2 separate regions of the Homo sapiens genome follow, and region 1 is linked to region 2. Evidence: promoter capture Hi-C in 16 types of primary human blood cells and fetal thymus (Javierre and others, 2016). All regions are on one chromosome and are shown on one strand. Each heading gives the region's core, a stretch centred on a gene start or on the middle of the fragment in contact. The rest is flanking DNA. Distances are from core to core; before and after follow the strand shown.

Region 1 (2,700 bases), core at 127-2,626, 2.7 Mb after region 2:
GTAAGGATGGGCTGGGAGCAGTGGCTCACGCCTGTAATCCCAGCACTTTGGGAGGCCGTGGCGGGTGGATCACCTGAGGTCAGGAGTTCGAGACCAGCCTGATCAACATGGCGAAACCCTGTCTCTATTAAAAATACAAAAATTAGCCAGGTGTGGTGGTGTGCACCTGTAATCCCAGCTATTCAAGAGCCTGAGGCAGGAGAATCGCTTGAACCCGGGAGGTGGACATTGCAGTGAGCTGAGATCATGCCACTGCATTCCAGCCTGGGTGACAGAGCGAGACTCCATCTCAAAAAAAATAAATAAAAAACAAAAAATAAAAAATAATGGTAAGGGTGGTAAATTGTGTTAGGTATATTTTACCACAATTAAAAATAATAATTAAAAAACAAACGCAGTTTTTAAATTGAATTGTTCCCAGGTTACCCTCCAGGTGATGCCAAGCAGATTGGCTTGTTAAAGGACCAGGACAAGGCTAGTCATTTCCTAAGTTACACTAAACATAGATTCCTCTTCCTAGAAAAATAAGAATTTTCAGTATAAATGTGTATGCTTCCCCACCAATCCTGCAGAACATGGCAGGTGGGATTTTAAAAAACTGTTTATCTTTAATGACACATGCAAAGTGCCGCCGCCAGTGGAGGCTCATTAAATTAAACTTATAAAAATGTAGAAAGTCTATCTCCTTTTACACACAGCTGGGCCAACAGCCCCTCACCCATTTCCCCAGGACAACTGGTAGCAAAGGCTAAAGTCTAGGACAAACTTCAGAATCAAATGCAGATAGCCTGGCGGCCAGACAACTGCAACTCAATCATCACCAAAAAAAAAAAAAAAAAAAAAGGTAAGGTAATAATTAATCACTCTGTACTTTGATTCCAGTGAGATTTTTTTTTTAATTGTGGTTTAGGGAGTTGTACAATAATTATATTTAAAAAAAATAAGGAAAGCAATTCATCTTAGCGATTTCATCAAAGACCTGGCATCCAATGTTCAGTGAGCATCCCCTAGAAAAGCATGTAAAGTTTCCTTTTCCTTGGTTTCATCCTGCTACACTGCTGCAAGGAAGCACCTGGGCATTACTAAGATCCCGTCAGGCCCTTTATGACTGCCTGGACTCTGCACCATAGAGCCTATACAACACAGGAAAACAAATTTTCCACTACCAAAACATTACAGCCTGCCCAGCAAGAACCAAAAACCTAAGCTAAAACTGCATTTAATATGCACAGATTCAGCTAAGCAATTTCTATCTGTACTACTCAAAAGACACTTCGGGAGTGACAGAGAAACATACCCACAAAATATTACTCAAAAAGAGCAAAGGATTAACTGTATCTTTCCCAAGTCTTCCTTAGCCATTTGATCTGTTTCCTCTCAGGCTTTTTATTTCAATTCCTAACTCTTCTATTACATCACAAGTCACGGAGAAGCAGAAGTACAAGAAACTATATAAATAACTTGTCATTCTGGAAGGTTCTCATTTTCCATGAACCCTAAAAATATTAGCCCGAGAACACTGGAACTGAAGAGGGAAAATCCAGGTTATGGTCCAAATTTCTGTCACTCACTAGCACTGTGCTCTCTCAGAAAGTCCATTTTTTAAAGGTAAATTAGACACCGGGGAATCTTTACCATCACATCCAATGTTAACACTCTATGATTCTGTGGATTTAACTCCATAAATTTAAAATCCATTCATTTACCCGATATTTTTCTTCATTCAACAAATATTTGCTGAACACTAACTACATCACTTCAGGTATTGGAAATACAGATGTTAACAAAACAGAGACAAATCCCTGCCACCTCGATGCAGTGACGTCTTAAGCAACGATCTTTGGAAAAGGATTTACAAGGCTAAATATAACATAGCAAGAAAGGACAGGAAACTGTTTTTACTACTTCTGGAAAAATAATTCCCTCCACAAAGAAGCTAAAACCTGCTTCAGTTAAGTGGCAACTAAAGGAGAGACGAGGGGGTGGACATATCCCGTAGGAAAGAGTGGGCACCCAAGGGCAAGGGGTACTGGAGCCCGAAGGAGGGATCCCAAGCCCCAGCGTTCTGCAAGAGAGGTGAAGGATGAGTGGGAAGTCAAGGGAAGTGCAGAGTCGAGTACAGTGTGCGTCCTCAGATGAAGAGTTTCTTGGCAGAGTTCATGACGCTCCCAGTTTATAAAAGTATCCCAGAGGCCAGAAATTCTCCTAGGATGGTTATGCACACTGCTTGGCAGAGAGAAGAGTTTTAAAATGAGATCTCTGTTTACAGACAAGACAGTCAAGTAGAGGGCATTCAGCTCTAAAAAGAGCCTGAATTCTAAGGCATCAGGATGAGAAAAGTCATTCTAGGAGAACAGTACCAGGCGATTCCAAGAAATGGCAGTTCTCCAAAAACTGAAATGCCCAGGAGAGAGGAGCTGGTTTTCCAGAATGTGGATGGAAATGCAGTGTAACCAGAAAAACAGGACACTCCAGATGGGCCTTAAGGGGCAGATGATCTAGAGCTGTAACCCTCAAACCGCCAGATGCATGGGGCCACCTAGGAACTTCTGGGGTGGGAAAACCAGTTCCTGAGATGCACCTGGCATTCTGATTCCCAGTCTCCGGGGGTGGGCTCAGAAAACGAACAGAGTTCCTGTTAGGGTCTGAATATCTGTGTTCTCCCAAAATTCATGTGTTGAAATCCTAACCTCTACAGTG
Region 2 (2,700 bases), core at 170-2,669:
GCATTTGGAATAAAAGAAACATGAGGTAACCAGAAAAAATAAGGGAAAAAATTGTAGCCAAAATCAGACAATGCTTGGCAGCAGTGAGTGACATAAGGCAAAGAAATTTCCAAGCATGAATGTGACCAACCCCGTCAACACGTGCAGCCTCATTTTCTCATCCTGGTTTGCTTTGGGTTTCTTTGATAAAATGATGGTGATGGCACAAAGACAGTAAGCTAACAAAGGCAGAAATGCTGACAGCAAGCATTCATCAAGGATACTGATTTTTATAACGACCCTCTGGAGTTTACAGATGTGACAACAGGGGTACTCAGATTTTCAGGATGAGAAATCTGGGGGTGAGGAGGTAAAGTGACCTGCAGTGGCGGGGTACCCCACTGGGCAAGATCTGCAGGCACAGGCTCCCATCATGCCAGGCCAGGGGACAGCGGTGACCCACCTGGGTCCTTACCACATCCCACAGGCAGGTCACCTTGCTGGCCTCACGCCCAGGAAAGGGGGCATGGAGGTTTGCACCATGTCACACTGCCATGAGACAGTCAACAGCAGAGCACACAGGCTGCCCAGCCTCAACAACACATGGGTGCTGGCGCGCACAGAGCATGGGGAAGAGGGTTTAGAAATAAGACCCATGGAGGCTGGGTGCGGTGGCTTATGCCTGTAATCCCAGTACTTTGGGAGGCCAAGGCGGGCAGATCACAAGGTCAGGAGATCGAGACCATCCTGGCTAACACAGTGAAACCCCGTCTCTACTAAAAATACAAAAAATTAGTCGGGCGTGGTGGTGGGCGCCTGTGGTCCCAGCTACTTGGGAGGCTGAGGCAGGATAAATGGCATGAACCCAGGAGGCAGAGCTTGCAGTGAGCCAAGATCGCACCTCTGCACTCGAGCCTGGGCAACAGAGAGAGACTCCGTCTCAAAAAAAAAGAAATAAGACCCCTGGGCCAAGACCCCATGATCTCTTCCTGTGCCAGGTTTCTCCTGGTCTCCATGCAAGGGACCTAGCAGACAAGCAGATAGCTTAACTTTGTCTACTACCAGGCAGCAGAAAGTCCTCGAACTTGGAAGGTATCCTGCATTTGCAGGAAGAGCAATCAGCACTTCTCATGGCTGAAGGCATCCGCTTGGAGGAGTCTTCTCAAAAGCCTTCAGGAAAAAACTCCATTCTCAACACCAACTCCAACCTCTGAACTGACCCCGCCGGCCAAATGCACCCTCCTGGTACAGGGCCTCCACTCGTGCCAGAGTGAGCCCACATCCTAGAGGTGATGACTTTTGAAAGAAAATTTCTGAATGCATACTTTAAAATCAAGCTTACCAAACCCTCTGAGAACAGTGATAACTCACCTTTCCTGGTCATCAGAAATGTTCTGGGCTGCCTCCTCGGCCATGTCCTGTGCAAGCTGGTCACAAGTATGACAGTCAGCAGACCAGCTTCTTCCTACATCCTCTGGAAGACAAAGAAATAGAGCTTAATGCTTCCAGCTTCTGTACTTGTGACCTCTTATCAGGACACACATCAAACACAGAGGGAAAAATCCAAACTCCAGTAACATTTTCCCAAGCAGAAACAGCTTTTGTTTTCCTAACACTGTCAGACAAATTCCTTCCTAAGAAGTGTGCTTTTGACAGACGTGGTGGCTCATGTCTGTAATCCCAGCAATTTGGGAGGCCAAGGTGGGTGGATCACTTGAGGCCAGAAGTTTGAGACCAGCCTGGCCAATATGGTGAAACCCCGTCTCTACTAAAAATACAAAAATAGCCAAGTGTGGTGGCACACATCTGTAATCCCAGTTACCCAGGAGGCTCAGGCGAGAGAATTGCTTGAACCTAGGAGGTGGAGGTTGCAGTGAGACGAGATTGCACCACTGTGCAATAGAGTGAGACTCTGCCTCAAAAACAAAATGAAACAAAACAAAACAAAACAAAAGTGTGTTTTAGGTAGGGATCTTTGTGGCTGCCTGAAACAGATCACTACTCAAGGGAGAGACTGTACATGGAAGCTGAGAGAAGTCTGAGAATAAAAAGCTGTAACTGTTGGCTGGGCGCGGTGGCTCACGCCTATAATCCCAACACTTTGGGAGGTCGAGGTGGGCGGATCACGAGGTCAGGAGCTCGAGACCAGCCTGGCCAGCATAGTGAAACCCCGTCTCTACTAAAAATACAAAAATTAGCCAGGCATGGTGGCACGCACCTGTAGTCCCAGCTACTCGGGAGGCTGAGGCAGGAGAATTGCTCGAAACCGAGAGGCGGAGGTTGCAGTGAGCCGAGATCGTGCCACCACACTCCAGCCTGGGCAACAGAGCGAGGCTCTGTCTCAAAAAAAAAAAAAAAAAAAAAAAGCTGTAACTGTCCACAACTGCACTGGGGAACAGGATACCTTCCACAAGAGCAGAAGAGCATTCCTAAGGAAGGCTGGCAAGGCACACACTAGGCGCACTCTGTCTTACGGCAGAACCTAGGAATGATCTGGTTCCGAACCTCCTGCACCTCTCCTTGTTTGCAACTGGCGGGTCAGACTGAGTTCTCTCCATTACGAAACATTTTCTCTTATATTTTTAAAGCACTTGTTAGTTGTCTTAGTTCTTTATACCAACATTTAAACCTTCAGAGATTTTAGAAAACTTAATGTTTTACTCAGAACACTAGATATTTTTTCTCTCCACTCTGAAGAGAGTGATACCAAGAAGAGTGGGA

Evidence for each region. The method cuts DNA at HindIII sites, captures the fragments that hold promoters and counts their contacts. A CHiCAGO score of 5 or more calls a contact.
Region 1: a contact is called between a fragment that was not itself captured here and the fragment with the promoter of PKD1L1 in region 2, in 2 of 17 cell types (naive CD4 T cells and total CD4 T cells). The highest score is 7.0, in naive CD4 T cells.

The regions. Positions count from the first base shown.
Region 1 is chr7:50,683,446-50,686,145 of GRCh38, forward strand. All of the region lies in intron 5 of GRB10 (growth factor receptor bound protein 10), which reads right to left. Among named protein-coding and RNA genes, the nearest start is that of GRB10, 98 kb to the right of the region's middle. The HindIII fragment of the contact is 3,820 bases long and covers 1-2,700 here.
Region 2 is chr7:47,947,047-47,949,746 of GRCh38, forward strand. PKD1L1 (polycystin 1 like 1, transient receptor potential channel interacting) reads right to left here and starts at 1,420. Exons shown (of 57, transcript NM_138295.5): 1 at 1,351-1,420. The coding sequence starts at 1,394. The HindIII fragment of the contact is 5,981 bases long and covers 1,315-2,700 here.